Regions from separate parts of the Homo sapiens genome. Here all the other regions are linked to region 1. The links are contacts of gene promoters, found by promoter capture Hi-C in blood cells and fetal thymus (Javierre and others, 2016). All regions are on one chromosome and are shown on one strand. The core of a region is centred on a gene start or on the middle of the fragment in contact, and the rest is flanking DNA. Distances in the headings are between cores, read along the strand shown.

Region 1 (3,754 bases), core at 739-3,238:
TGTACTAGGTTGGCTGCTGGTTATCACTTGCTTTTAGTACTGCTTTTCAGTTATGAATTACAATTAGCTTTACTTTATCGTCATCAATTTAGTTTGCTGGGTATGGTATAGTTAACCTTCTTTGTAATTTTGGCCTATAATTTTCCAAAAAGTAAACTTTTAAGATATATGGGCATAGCAATTCAAATATGAATAATCTATAATTCCGTTACCAAGTGAGATTTTAGGTGTTTTCCAACCAAATGTGCCCAAATAGTAACTCTTTGTTGGTAATTTTTTTTTTTTTTTTTTTTTGAGACGGAGTCTCGCTCTGTCGTCTAGGCTGGAGTGCAGCGGTGCGATCTCGGCTCACTGCAACCTCCGCCTCCTGGGTTCAAGAGATTCTCCTGCCTCAGCCTCCTGAGTAGCTGGGATTAGAGGCGCCCACCACCACCACGCCCGGCTATTTTTTTTTTTTTTGTATTTTTAGTAGAGACGGGGTTTCACCATGATGGCCAGACTGGTTTCGAACTCCTCATCTCAAGTGATCCGCCTGCCTCTGACTCCCAAAGTGCTAGGATTACAGGTGTGAGCCATCGCGCTCCGCCGGTAATGTGCTTCTTAATCGTCCCATTCAAATCAGCAAATTATCCTAGTAACTGTCATGCAATCTTCTAAATTATTTTGTTCTAATAACAAGATATATCTAAGTTTATTCTCCTATATAAAGTGCTAAAATTAGACACATAAATAATTGCTTTCAAGTTTACTGCAATTTGTTTACTTTGGGCCTCTCCAACTGTTTTCTCTGAGCTTTTTCTGTTGCAAAATAGAATGGAGAAGGAAATGTTGGGGTCTTTTGCCAATCTAACCGTGCTTCCCTCCAAGGGTAATCACTGGTGTGTCTAGGTATACCTGGAAGGTTAATGCAATTACAGCCTAAATCGATATAGCCCACAGCACATTTATGTAAACATAAAGCATAAGAACATTCCATGCCCAGGTCTGGTCTTCTGCATCTCCATCTAGGGGGGTTTCTCAACACAGGTACTACTACTGGCACTTGGGGCTAGATAATTCTTTGCTGTAAGGCGAAGTTTAGCAGCATCCCTGGCCTCTCCATGCCAATAGCACCCTCCTTACAAGTTGTTGCAACTAAATATGTCTCCAAACATCGCCACCGGTTCCCTGGGGGCATTCTGTCCCTCGCTATGATTTTTTAAGTGTTCCCCCTTACCCCTCTTAATAACCACTGTCCCACAGTGATATAACCCTGATGTGTGAGTTTTCCCCAAGTGACAGCTATGTTTAATTTAGGCTTGAAGGGGAAACTTAATTAAGGAGCTTTTGAGGACAAACAGAGACGTCTTGGAGGAACCGTCTAACATACGATCAAGAAAAGCAACGTTAGACTACTAAGACACCATAGTATTTAACAATGAAGTTCCAGGTACTGTAATAAGTGTTCTATCTGCATTAGCTCCTTTCTTATACTTTTATTCGCTGGGGAAACTGACGCTCCGTGATAAACCAAGGAGCAGAGGCTGCAGCGGATAAAGTGAAGGTGGGGGGCTAAGTGCGCCGTCCTCCCGCTCCCCCTGGGTTTCACGGTCTCTTTCTCCAGCACTTGAGTACCGGAGTGACCTTCAGAAGTCTCTCCAAGGACTCGCTTCAACTCCGCTCTCACGTCCTGCCCCTCTCTTCAGGTTTCCCGGTGTTAGGTCTCTTGTGCTCACAGCATGAGCTGGGCCTCCAAAGCCTGACCCAGTCTGCAGCCCACTTGGCCCGCAGGGTTCAGCTGAAGGGCAGACCGAATCCCAAGGCCCAGACCCCAGACCAGACACCTCCGCCTCGTATCACCTTGTCGACACACTGCTCCCCAGCCCTTTCCCAAACCCGCCACCTGAGCTCACCGAGAAAGAGCCGGCTCTGGTTAGTAGCTTCATGATTCAAGATTGTTCTGACACACGGTCACTGCCGGATTAAAGGAAAGCAAGATGGTGGCGGAGGCCGGGAGTTTCCCAGCGTTCCCCGCTAACACTTTCCCACGTCCCCTTCGTGAGGTACTCTCTATACTGCCGCGCTCTACTGCTCTCTTTATAAGGTTGGACCAGTCCAATTCCTCCAAGACTCAGAATAGGGAGACGCACAATTTCCCAAGTAAATATATGCAGAGAATAATGTACGTCACTGCTTTTTGCGTTCTTCTCCTAGCCTGAATATCCAGTATGCACCCCTTTTCTAAGTACGTCTGCAGCAGCCTGTCACAACTCCCCCCGCTATCTTGGGCTCTTCCGCTCAGCATTGTCCAATGGGACGCGCCTCTCTTGGGACTCCGCATGCGCCCTCCGGGATGACACCTGCACTGGAGGCCCTGGGTTTCCGCGTTCCTGGACGTTGGAGGCTTCAGGAGATTCCTGCCACTCCACCTTTCTGCAGAGGTATTGGGTATCGAAGCCCGGCGTAGTTGCCTCTCGCTGGGTGAAGTCCTTACTGGATCTTTAGCTCCGTGAAACAGGGGCCTCGTTCAACGTATTCGCCGCTGTGTCCCCCAGAGCAGGCCCGGGACACACCGGGAGGGTCAGCAACCTCGGGGAATCATCACAAGGCTTTTGGTCTCGTGGAATTTACGTCCTAGGCTGGGGCTACATAGAATATAAAAACTTAGCTATAGTTTTTGTGTTAGGAAAATAGAAATGTTTTGGATAGTAGGTGTGTTATGTGAGCCGAAACCGGCAGTTGGAGAAAGTCAGTCACGTGACGACTTGGGGCGGGGGCGTTCACTCCGGTCCTCAGCGAGTGTTAACCCAGAAAGTGCCTTGAGCTAGGCACTATGCCAACGCGAGAGGCGTGGTCCCTGCCCTTTAGGGACTTTAGAGTTTCGTACCTTGCTACGTTGCTTGGTTGGGAAACCGACAGTATCAGCATCAATATCATTTAGGAGTTGATTAGAAATGTATGAACTCCAGGTCCCATATTGGATCCGAATCGGTGTTTTTACAAGATCCTGGGATGACTTCGTATGCACAATAGTTTCAGAAAGGCTGGTGGTGTAGACGTTACAAGGCATAGGCAAATGTACTTTCTTTTTGCCTTGTGTCTGAATTGCTCCAGGCCTACAACGGACTTGGGCTCTCTAATTAAGATCTGGGCATTAAGAACCTGGCACCAACCCAATTTCTGTGCCTGCTGGGGACGCCCTCAACCCAATTCATACCACACAGTTTCCCCACATGTGGTAGATTTAACACTAGTGGTGCGTGAGATGATTTTAAGTTGGTACATAGATGAACACTTCCATTTTTTCCTTTTAAAAATTTGTATAAATTTAAGGGGCGCAAGTACAGTTATGTTATATGGATATATTGCAGTAATGGTGAAGTCTGGGCTTTTAGTGTACCCATCACCCGAATAATGTACATGGTACCCATTAAGTACTTTCTCATCGTTCACCTCTCTCCCACCCCTCCACCTTTCGGAGTCTCCATTGTCTGTCATTCCACACTCTATGTCCATGTGTACACCTTATTTAGCACTGTTCCATTTTAATAATATATTTATTTTGATTATGGCAAGCAATGCTAGTAGTGAATTTCCTCTTTAAGTACATTTATAAAATAATAAAAGTTGGTGTAAAAACGTTAAGTAACTTGATGATACGGAGATACAGCAAAAATCATGAATGTGTTATACAGGTACCATTGAGTGAAATCTGGGAAGCAGTGCTCTGATCAAGCCACCTGCCTGCTTAAAATTCTTCAACGACAGCCACGTT
Region 2 (3,754 bases), core at 374-2,873, 390 kb after region 1:
GCTGAGGTGGGAGGATTGCTTGAACCTGGGAGGCAGAGGTTGCAGTGAGCCGAGATCATGCCACTACACTCCAGCCTGGGTGACAGAGCAAAACCAGAAGAAGAAGAAGATAAAAGATAAAAGCCATAGCTGGGAATGTCCTTGGTGCTCTGAACTGGATGACATTTGTTAGGCATGGCCATCCCACAGACTCACTGCTCCTCAAGATCACCCTTCAGTTATCCAAGAACTGATGGTTACCTACCCATGCTCTGCTCTTCTGCTGCTACTTTCTGGGCTCTGAGATGACCACAGAGGCCAGGGTCAAATGCTGGGCCACTCACCACATACTGATGATGCTGTCAAAATGTGGTTACCCTTCTGCTCCACCTCAATTATCTGTGGAAAACCTAATTTAAGGGGTATATGGTGTTTTGTCTGCCCGCATTTCTTCCTGTAAGAAACACGCTTTCCCCTCTTCCCTAGTAAACTGTCTCAGTCCTTACGAGTTGGTGGAGCTGGACTGCCTCACTTCCATCCCCAAGGTCAGGTACATGCCCAGATCTGGTCAGAGGACTTCATGTGTCAAGGTACAACTACTGCCTCAGCCATGAGCACTTGACTCATACAGTGCCCATTAGCGTCCACCTGGGGACTTTTTCTGTGCTACTGGAACAAAAGTGCATGTTTCCTCACCATCTTGGGCTGTTAGCCCTATGTGAACATGGAGGTATCTTGCTGCCATGCGATGAAAAGCTTATACACAACGCAGAGGGTAAGTCAGAGAAACTAGTTAATGACATAATTTGAGATCCAAATCTGCCTGACTTTTCAGCTACAGAAGCCAATAAATTCCCTTTTTTTTCTTTTTTTCTTTTTTTTTGAGACAGAGTCTCACTGTCGCCCAGGCTGGAGTACAGTGGCGTGATCTTGGCTCACTGCAACTTCCACCTCCCGGGTTCAAGTGATTCTTCTGCCTCAGCCTCCAGAGTAGCTGGGACTACAGGCGTGCACTACCATGCCTGGCTAATTTTTTGTATTTATAGTACAGGCAGGGTTTCACCGTGTTGCCCGGGCTGGTTTAGAACTTCTGACCTTAGGTGATCCACCCGCCTCGGCCTCCCAAAATGCTGGGATTATAGGCATGAGCCACTGTTCCCAGCCCGAATTCCTTTTTTATTTAAGCTAACCTGCATTGAATTTCTGTCACTTGTAGCCAAAGTGGTTTGAATAATGCACCTTTCCAATTGGCACTTGTGCCCAAATTACCATAAACTGGCTGTCTCTGACCACTCTAGGGAAAGGATTCAGTGATTTCTAATTGACCACTACCAGTGAAGACATGGGAGGTTTGAAATAGCTGAGCCCAGATTCTGAGAACGACAGGACAAGGTCATGATTGTACTTTTGAACTTGATGTTGGAGGTGTTCACAAGCATGACGCCTCTCCTGGACTTTGTTTACTGATAGGAACCACAAGATAGACGAGACAGCAGAATTAGGCCAACAATGGGTGCAAGGTGCCAAAAAGGTAATAGAAACCCAAGTTCCACTTTGAAGCAGCATAAATCAGACATTTCTCAAACATTAAAAACGGAAGTGGCCTGATCAAGACCTTTAAACGGAGTAAAAAGCCACGAAGCCAAGGCCTTGAGCAGCTAGTCAGAGAATTATTGCAATATGTGCTCAGAGACACAGGGTTTCATGAAAAGCCCAGTCTCTGCCTGGCTGCAGCACCTCTGTGCTTTTTGTCCCAGCATTTGCTTAGCAGCAGAACCTCATTATCCTTCAGTGTTCTGTAGTTATAACAGATTCCAGCTTCAGGGGGAAAAAAATGGATTCCAGCTGCCAGGGGTTCTCTCTGGGAGATTTTCTATCTCTGAGACGAAATTGTCTTTTTCTCCCTTTTTTCATGGTGAGAGGGGCATGGAGTACACCTCTGATAATCTGCAGAGGCAAAGCCTTGCATGAGCATGCTGACAACCCTGCAGAGAGAAAGCCTTAGGCTGGAAGTTCAAGGGCAGCCAGGAGAATGAACATTTCGATGAATAAAGCAATTTGATAACTACCATGTTGTGGTCTAAGACCCACCACTTACAGGCTTACATGGTGATTACTGAAGCTGCAACTATTTTAATGGCTTCATCTACTTTAAAGTACTGGTGATTTTTCTACTACTTCATTTAATTGCTTGATGTTTCTTGGAAGAGTTCTTCGGTCTTTCTGCTAAAATGTTATCCCAAGCTAGGAGAGATGCCATGATTTCAGAGAATTTCTTTTCCTCTATAATATTATATATTTTCCTCTGGGTTATCAATGAACCTACTGACTACTTTGAGTATTATGCCTTTAGGATGTCTTCACCTCTCATTTCCTTAACATTTTTAAATGAATCTCTGATAGAAAAATGAATCTGAAGCCTTGCTTATGCTTTGATTCATTCAACAAATATTTATTGCACACTTACTGTTTTAGATGCCTGGGATACAGAGTAAATAAATCAACAATGATCCTTGCCTTCAACAAAGCTTACATTCTGGTGGAGGCAAAGAGATAATACATAAATAAATTTAATATCATCTTTTGTAATAATAACCATTACACCTCTGCTTATGAAAAAAATTGCATTCAATTTTTGCTCACAATCTTCTTTTTTTTTTTTTTTTTTTTGAGACAGAGTCTCACTCTGCCACCTAGGCTGGAGTGCAGTGGCATAATCATACTTCACTGCAACCTCTGCCTCCTGGGCTCAAGTGACCCTCCTGCATCAGCCCCACAAGTAGCTGGGACTACAGATGCATGCCACAATGCCCAGCTAATTTTTCTATTTTTTGTAGAGATGGGATTTTGCCATGTTTCCCAGGCTGGTCTTGAACTCCTAGGCTCAAATGATCTGCCTACCTCGGCCTCCCAAAGTGCTGGGATTACAGGCACTGAGCCACTATGCTCAACTAATCTTCTGTTCCCTTCCTTCCTTCCTTTTCCTTCCTTCCTTCCTCTCTCTCTCTTCCTTCCTTCCTCTCTCTCTTCCTTCCTTCCCTTCCTTCCCTTCCCCTCTTCCTTTCTCTCTCTCTCTTTTCTTTCTTTTTTCTGACAGAGTCTTGCTCTGTCACTCAGGCTGGAGTGCAGTGGCACAATCTTGGCTCACTGCAACCTCCACCTCCTGGGTTCAAGTGATTCTCTTACCTCAGCCTCCTGAGTAGTTGGTATTACAGGCACACACCACCACAGCCAGCTACTTTTTTTTTTTTGTATTTTTAGTAGAGACGGGGTCTTGCTATGATGCCCAGGCTGGTCTCAAACTCCTAGACTCAAGTGATCTGCCTGCCTCAGCCTTCTAAGGTGCTGGGATTACAGGCATGAGCCACTGCACCCAGCCTAATCTTCTATTCTCAAAAGAAGAAAGTATCCACCCGCAGGTAACAGAATTCTAAAATATTACTGTCTGGACCCTTTTACTTCATTTTCCTAGCTTATACCTGCCAAATTATTGGTAAATTCAGCTCTGTGAGGTGAAGAGGGCCATATAAATGATCATACTCTCACCTTGAATCCTATCTTTAGGATCTTCTACATCACGAGACTAAAGCAAAGTCTGACTCCTTTCCACTCTTCTGCTATCAACATCAGCTCAAAAATACATAAAATTAATAAGGTTGCTTCCTGATGGCATCAGTGAAATAACTTTATGGTCATTCATATAAAAACAGACAACCCTGGCCCAGCGCAGTGGTCCATACCTGTAATCCCAACACTTTGGGAGGCTGAGGCAGGT
Region 3 (3,754 bases), core at 465-2,964, 300 kb before region 1:
TGGAGGCTGAGGCAGGAGAATCACTTGAACCTGGGAGGCAGAGGTTGCAGTGAGCCAAGATTGCACCACTGCACTCCAGCCCTGAGCAACAAGAGCAAAACTCCGTCTCAAAAAAAAAATTAATAAAATAAAAATACAAAAATTAGCTGGGCGTGCTTGTGCGTACCAAAAATCCCAGCTACTCAGGGTGTCGAGGCAGGAGTATCACTTTAACCCAGGAGGCAGAGGTTGCAGTGAGCCAAGATCATGTCACTGCACTCCAGCCTGGATGACAGAGTGAGACTCCGTCTTAAAAAAAAAAAAATTTATTTTAGAGACAGGGTCTCACTCTGTCGCCCAGGCTGGAGTGCAGTGTCATAATCATGGCTCATTACAGCCTCATACTTCTGGGCTCAAGTGATCCTCCCACCTCAGCCTCCCGAGAAGCTAGGACTACAGGCGTGTGTCACTACACATGGCTCATATCTAAATTTTTTTATAGAGACGAGGTCTCACTATGTTGCCTAGGCTGGTCTTGAACTGGCCTCAAGAACTGGCCTCAAGCAATCCTCTTGTCTTCCAGCATCCTCCCAGAGCATTAGGATGACAAGCTGCAGCCACTGTGCTCAGCTCTGTTTTCCTTTGAGTTTTAAAAGGGTACACAGCCACCCACTAGGGATGACATTGCTAAGCTTCCCTTGCAGCTAAGTGTGGCCACATGACTGTGCCCAGCCAATGGGAAGTGAGCATTGCAATGATGTAACTCCAGCCTGCCCTGTAAGGTGGACTCTGCTTGGGAGCCAGAATTGATTATGTGGTCCATGGCAAACCCCTGAGGGGATGGCAGAGAAAAAAGACCAAAGGAACGAGTTCTCTAGATGGCTTCAAGGAGATGAGGCACAAACAAGCCTACCCCAAGCCACCCACCAATGCAAGACCTCCACACAAGTGAAAAAGAAACCATTTCGTGTCCACACATATTTTGTGGGTCTGTTTGCTAAGCAACTTAGACTATGCCTTACAGTAAAACTGTGAATTTGGGAACATTTCTGAATTTCACCTCTCTGTGCCTCAGTTTCTTTACCTGCATAAAGAGGGTCTCAGGCTCAGTCTGTGAATTAAACTTATTGATGCAAAAAGGAGCCAGGCAATGTTTGCTTTCATTTTATTTTATATTTTATTGCCCAGGCTGTTGCCCAGGCTGGACTGCAGTGGCACGATCTTGGCTCACTGCAACCTCTGCCTCCCAGGTTCAAGCAATTCCTCTGCCTCAGCCTCTTGAGTAGCTGGGACTACAGGCACCCGCCTCCATGCCTGCCTAATTTTTGTATTTTTAGTAGAGATGGGTTTTACCATGTTGGCCAGGCTGGTCTTGAACTCCTGACCTCAAGTGATCCGCCCCCCCACCCCGGGCTTTCCAAAGTGCTGAGATTACAAGCATGAGCCACTGTGCCTGGCAACTCATTTTTATCAGGAGCTACAATTCTAGAGAAATATAAACCAACCTCTAAACAGCAGTTTTCTCCCTGCAATGGGAAATTATAGGGAACTTTGACATTCCTTGCCGAATTTTTTTTGTTTTTATAAAGTCTATGTTTAATTTTGTACACAGAAGAAAATGTATAAATAGTGCATATGGTTTGTAAAGTGGAGTAGGGGAGATTAGGGACTCTAGCTTGCACCTCTTGCCCTGTTACACAAGGACTCATCCTTGGTTCCCATGTCCTCCTCAATGCCACCTCCTGGGAGGATTAGGTCCAGGTTTCCCAAGGAAACGACCATCCATGGAGAGTGGGTCACCAGACATGCAGACAACAGATGCAGAGGCCGAAGGGGTCCTGATCTGAGAGGTGAGAACTTGCCCCAAACAAGGCTTCAATGGGTTCTGAGAACCGGCCTGAGGGGAAGGCAGGGAGCGGCGGTTCTCAGAGGGTTCTGCCCAAAGGCTGGTCCCATCCCTACAAGGAAACTTACAGCAGGGCCACCTGCTGGGCCAGAGGGCTCCCTGGGCGAGGGGCAGTGGTACAGCCACAGTGGACAACCAGCACCTTCTCAAACAACCACGTCTCTCTCCCTCCCTTAAGTCAACCACATTATTATTATTATTATTATTATTGTTACTACTACTACTACTACTACTATTTGGGGATGGAGTCTTGCTCTGTCACCCAGGCCGGAGTGCAGTAGCCCAATCTCGGCTCACTGCAGCCTCCGCCTCTCGTGTTCAAGTGATTCTCCTGCCTCAGCCTCCCAAGTAGCTGGGATTACAGGCGTGCACCACCATGCCCAGCTAATTTTGTATTTTTAGTAGAGGCGGGGGTTTCACCATGTTGGCCAGGCTGGTCTCGAACTCCTGACCTCAGGTGATCCGCCCACTTCAGCCTCCCAAAGTGCTGGGATTACAGGCATGAGCCACTGTGCCAGGCCTACCACAGTATTATTTACTGGACACCTAGGCACTAGGAGACAGCAGTGAACATGATAAAATAAAATCTCTGCCTTTAGGGGAGAGAAGCACCTAAAATATTAACTAAATGAATGACATACTAACTGCTCCAAAGAACAGGAAAAAAAAAAAAAGTTAGAATGATGTGACAGAGGTGACTGGGGCAGAGGGACCACTTCTTAGGGTTGTCTGAGATGGGCTGGCTGAGGAGGTGACACAGGATCTGAGACCTGAACTATAAGAAGTAGCTAGCCATGCAAGAATTACGGTGACACAAGATGCCCGCCAAGCCCACAGCCAGGGCCAAGGTTTTGGGGCAGGAACAAGCTTGTGGAGGAAGAGAAAGGAGGCCAGGCTGGAAGGCCGCAAATTGCAGAGGAAGCCACAGCCCCCCAGGGTGGGGACTGTGGCTTCTTGCGCCTGCCTCAAGTATGCTTCATCAAGGGCTCTGCAAACAGCAGGTGCTCAATAAATTCTGCACACCCAGGAGACTGTGCGTTGTATGTAGTAGATGCTCAAGCTGTGGAAGATCTCAGCTGTGGGCTCATGCAGGGCAGAGGCATGGATCCTTCCTCAAATGCCGAAAGGCAACAGGGAATTCTGCTTGGCCTCAGTCACTCATCACCCTAGGGGCTCAAATGAAGGTGCCAACCTAGCAGGGGGTTGAAAAGCCTGCATTTGAGACCTGGCTACAGCTCTGCCTGGTTGGGGAAGTCATTTAGCCTCTTTGAGCCCAGGGTTTCCCAAAGAGCAGACATAGTATCCACTATGATATGGTTTGGCTGTGTCCCCACTCAAAGCTCATCTTGAATTGTAGCTCCCATAATTCCCACGTGTTGTGGGAGGGACCTGGTAGGAGATAATTGAATCATGGGGGTGGTTTCCCCCATACTGTTCTCATGATAGTGAATAAGTCTCACGAGATCTGATGGTTTTATAAGGGGAAACCCCCTTTGCTTGGTCCTCAATCTCTCTTGTCTGCCACCAGGTAAGATGTGCCTTTTGCCTTCTGCCATGATTGTGAGGCCTCCCCAGCCACATGGAACTATCTGTCCATTAAACCTCTTTTTCTTTTATAAATTACCCAGTCTTGGGTATGTCTTTATCAGAAGTGTGAAAACGGACTAATATACATTCCCAGCTCTTTCTTCCGCTTTTTCTTGGGAATCTCACCTTTTCCAGTCTCAGTCCCTGTGGTCTGGGTGGAACACCTACATTCCTAGCTCTAAGGGCAGGCACATGGCTAGGGTGTGCCCAATCTGCATATTCCTGCCCCTTGGCCACTGTGATTGGCTCGGCAATAGGGATCTGACTTAATCAGAGCCAATG
Region 4 (3,754 bases), core at 554-3,053, 280 kb after region 1:
ACAAATTAGGATTGGTCTGGGGCATTATTAGGGTACAATGGGAAAAGTTTATTGCAACAGGGCACAAGGGAACTTCTTGGAGTGATGGAAAAATTTTTTTTGTAGATATAGGGTCTCACTATAGTGCCCAAGCTGGTCTCAAACTCCTGGTTTCAAGCAATCCTCCCTTCGAGCTTCCCAAAGTACTGGGATTACAGGTGGATGCCATTGCACCCAGCCCCCATTTTTTGTATCTTGATTGTGGTGGTTGTCACACAGATACATACATTTATCAGATCTCACTGAACTGTACACTTAGTGTGCATTGTATTGCCTGTAAATTTATACCTCACAAAAGTCAGTATCAAACAGAAATGGAAAAGCATGGACTGTGGAGCCAGTCACCTGTTCTGAATCACGTCTCCGCCACTTACTAGCTGTGCAATGTTGGACATATTTCTTTCTTTTTTTTTTTCTTTTTTCTTTTTTCTTTTTTTTTTTTTTGATATGGAGTCTTACTCTCTTGCCCAGGCTGGAGTGCAGTGGTGCAATGTAGGCTCACTGCAACCTCTGCTTCCCAGGTTCAAGCGATTCTTCTGCCTCAGCCTCCTGAGTAGCTAGGATTACAGGTACCCACCACCACACCAGGCTAAGTTTTGTATTTTTAGTAGAGACAGGCTCCCACCATGTTGGCCAGGCTGATCTCGAACTCCTGACCTCAAGTGATCCACCCACTTTGGCCTCCCAAAGTGCTGAGATTACAGGTGTGAGCCACTGAGCCCGGCCTTGGACGAGTTTCTTAATCTCTCTGCACTCCAATTTTCTCGTCTGTAAAATGAGATTAATGATGGTACCAGCATCACTGTGTCGTATGAGGGTAAAATGAGTTGTTAATAGTGAATCACTTCAAACAGGGCTTGACACAAAGTCAGCTCTGTATACAAGTTTATTAAATAAGCAAAGAAACCAGATTGCTGTTTTCAAACAGATGCTGTTTTGAAAAACACCATCTCAATAAACTCATGTCACCCTCCGCCTCTCCCCATTACCCTCAAGATAAAGCCCAAAGCTTTTCCAGTGGCTGTATCACCCTCCTCTTTGCCCCTCATTCCCCAAGGTTCCTGCCCGGGCCATCTGTCTGTCCCTCCAAGGTGCTATCCTCCCCAGATTAAGACCCTCTCACAGGCTGTTCCTCGGCCCAGAGGATTCTTCCCCTTCCTCTTTGCCCGGCTAAGATCAATTCATTGTAAATTTCAAGTCTTCAATGAAGCCTTCCCTGAATTCTCTGACCAGGCCAAAGCAATTAGCCAGAAGAAAAGGCCAATACTTCTCTTTTATAGCACCAAGCACAGCTATAATACATATTTATGTTTGTGTAATTATTTCATGCTTTCATTCTTCAAATATTTGTTGAGTAGTGCTGTGAGCCAGGCATTATTCTATGCTCTGAGAATACAGCAGTTTACAAAACTAACTCCCTGCTGGTGTGTTGGAATGAACCAGGCAGAAAATAGATAATCAAATAACTATATTATGTCAGGGAGTGATGAGTGCCATGGAGAAAAATACAACAGGGTAGGAAAAAGGAGCCAAAGAAGGAGCAGGTACTATTATAGACAGTTTGGTCAGGGAAGACCTGAGGAGGTGACATTTAAGCAGAGACCTCAGGAAGTGAAGGAATGAACCACGGGAATATCTGGAGAAAGAAAGTTCCAGAAAGAAAAGAAAATGACAGTGCAAAGGCTTTGATATTAGGAGCATAATTTGCATGTTCTTCAGTAAATTGCACGAAGAGGATATAACAGTAGGACATGGGGTTGGAGAGGTATCAGGGCCAGAGTGAGTAGGGTCTTTCAGGCCATTGTGAGCGCTCTGACTTTTACTTGGAGGGAGGTGGGAGCCACTGAAGGGATATTAGCCAGGATGGATGCTCTGACTTGTTTTTGTTTTTGTTTTGTTTTGTTTGAGATGGTGTCTCACTCTGTCGCCCAGGCTAGAGTGCAGTGGCACAATCTCAGCTCACTGCAACCTCTGCCTCCCCGGCTCAAGTGATTCTCCTGCCTCAGCCTCTCAAGTAGCTGGGATTATAGGTGCCCACCACCACACCCAGCTAATTTTTATATTTTTGGTAGAGACGAGATTTCACCCTGTTGGCCAGGCTGGTCTCGAACTCCTAAGCTCAAGTGATCCACCCACCTCAGCCTCCCAAAGCTCTGGGATGACAGGTGTGAGCCACTGTGCCTGGCCCTGACTTTTATTTTAACTGGATCAAGCACATTGATTGCTGTGTTGAGAATACCCTGGAGTGGAACAATGGCTGTAGCAGGCAGACCAATCTAGGAAAGAGATGACAATAACTTGGTCATTGATAGCAGTGAAGGTGGTGAGAAGTGGTTGGATTTTGGAGGTATTTGGAAGGCGGAACCAAAAGATCGAATGTAGGGAATAAAAGAAATAGACAGGTCAAAGACAACGCCAAGGATTTGGCCTGAGCATGTAGAGAGGGAGATGGGAAAACCATAGGAGTTCCAAGTTTAGGGAAGGATCCCTGGAGCTCAGTTTTGGACATACTAAGCTTGAGAAGCCTTTTAGAGTGCAGATAGCATAGCAAGTAGGCAGTTTGATGTTTGAGCCTGCAGGTTAGGGGAGAGGTGCTGTCAGAAGCAGCTATCTAAACAGAGATAGTCAGTGGTTTTTTGTGTTTGCTTTTTTGTTTGTTCTTCTGTTTTGGGGGTTTTTTTGGGGTGGGGGACAGAGTCTCACTCTGTCACGCACGCTGGAGTGCAGTGGCACGATCTCAGCTCACTGCAACCTCTGCCTCCCAGGTTCAAGTGATTCTTGTGTCTCAACCTCCCGAGTAGCTGGGATTACAGGCTTGTGCCACCGCACCGGCTAATTTTTGTATTTTTAGTAGAGACGGGGTTTCACCATGTTGGCCAGGCTGGTCTCAAACTCATGACCTCAAGGGATCCACCTGACACAGGCTCCCAAAGTGCTGGGATTACAGGCATGTAATCCCACTGCACCCGGCCCCAGATAGTCAGCATGTATTTAAACCCTGAATGATATCACCAAGAAAGTAAATTTACGGAGAAATTAGGTGAGTTTTAAGGACTGAGACCCATGGCACCCCCATTGCCAAGACGTTGAGTAGACTAGGTGCAGCCAGAGAAATCAAGACTGTGGAAAACTCCCCAAAACAAACAACCTAGTTTCTTTAGCCAATATATTACAGAGAGAGAGAGAAAGAGAACCTATTAACTCAAAAACAAAAGATTGATCACTTGTAGAATCTAGACTTTATTTGGATCCTGATTCAAACACGTCATGTCTGGGCACGGTGGCTCACACCTGTAATCCCAGCACTTTGGGAGGCCGAGGCGGGCAGATCACTTGAGGTCAGGAGTTTGAGACCAGCCTGACCAACATGGTGAAAACCCATCTCTACTAAAGATACAAAAACTTAGCTGGGCATGGTGGCGCATGCTAATAATCCCAGCTACTCGGGAGGCTGAGGCAGGAGAATCTCTTGAACCCGGGAGGCAGAGGTTGCAGTGACCCGAGATCATCCCATTGCACTCCAACCTGGATGACAAGAGTGAAACTCTGTCTCCAAAAAAAAAAAAAAAAAGAAAGAAACAAAGCAAACAAACAAAAAATACCATAAAATAAAATAAAAAATTAGGCCAGGCACAGTGGCTCACACCTAATCCCAGTGTTTTGGGAGGCCAAGGCGGAGGATTGTTTGAGGCCAGGAGTTTGAGACCAGCCTGGG

Evidence for each region. The method cuts DNA at HindIII sites, captures the fragments that hold promoters and counts their contacts. A CHiCAGO score of 5 or more calls a contact.
Region 2: a fragment that was not itself captured here is called in contact with the fragment with the promoter of UQCRC2 in region 1 in 3 of 17 cell types (M2 macrophages, neutrophils and total CD4 T cells); the score reaches 7.3 in M2 macrophages.
Region 3: a contact is called between a fragment that was not itself captured here and the fragment with the promoter of UQCRC2 in region 1, in 1 of 17 cell types (naive CD8 T cells). The highest score is 5.7, in naive CD8 T cells.
Region 4: a fragment that was not itself captured here is called in contact with the fragment with the promoter of UQCRC2 in region 1 in 1 of 17 cell types (M1 macrophages); the score reaches 5.0 in M1 macrophages.

Annotation. Positions count from the first base shown.
Region 1 is chr16:21,951,595-21,955,348 of GRCh38, reverse strand. UQCRC2 (ubiquinol-cytochrome c reductase core protein 2) reads right to left here and starts at 1,988. Exons shown (of 14, transcript NM_003366.4): 1 at 1,893-1,988. The coding sequence starts at 1,925. RefSeq lists enhancers at 1,646-1,695, 1,706-1,875, 1,390-2,107, 2,196-2,655. The HindIII fragment of the contact is 11,485 bases long and covers 1-3,754 here.
Region 2 is chr16:21,563,836-21,567,589 of GRCh38, reverse strand. No RefSeq gene overlaps it. Among named protein-coding and RNA genes, the nearest start is that of METTL9, 34 kb to the left of the region's middle. The HindIII fragment of the contact is 1,772 bases long and covers 738-2,509 here.
Region 3 is chr16:22,252,469-22,256,222 of GRCh38, reverse strand. All of the region lies in intron 6 of EEF2K (eukaryotic elongation factor 2 kinase), which reads right to left. Among named protein-coding and RNA genes, the nearest start is that of TRL-AAG2-4, 43 kb to the left of the region's middle. The HindIII fragment of the contact is 2,081 bases long and covers 674-2,754 here.
Region 4 is chr16:21,668,316-21,672,069 of GRCh38, reverse strand. The region is part of intron 1 of OTOA (otoancorin); the gene reads right to left. Among named protein-coding and RNA genes, the nearest start is that of OTOA, 6.2 kb to the right of the region's middle. The HindIII fragment of the contact is 1,506 bases long and covers 1,051-2,556 here.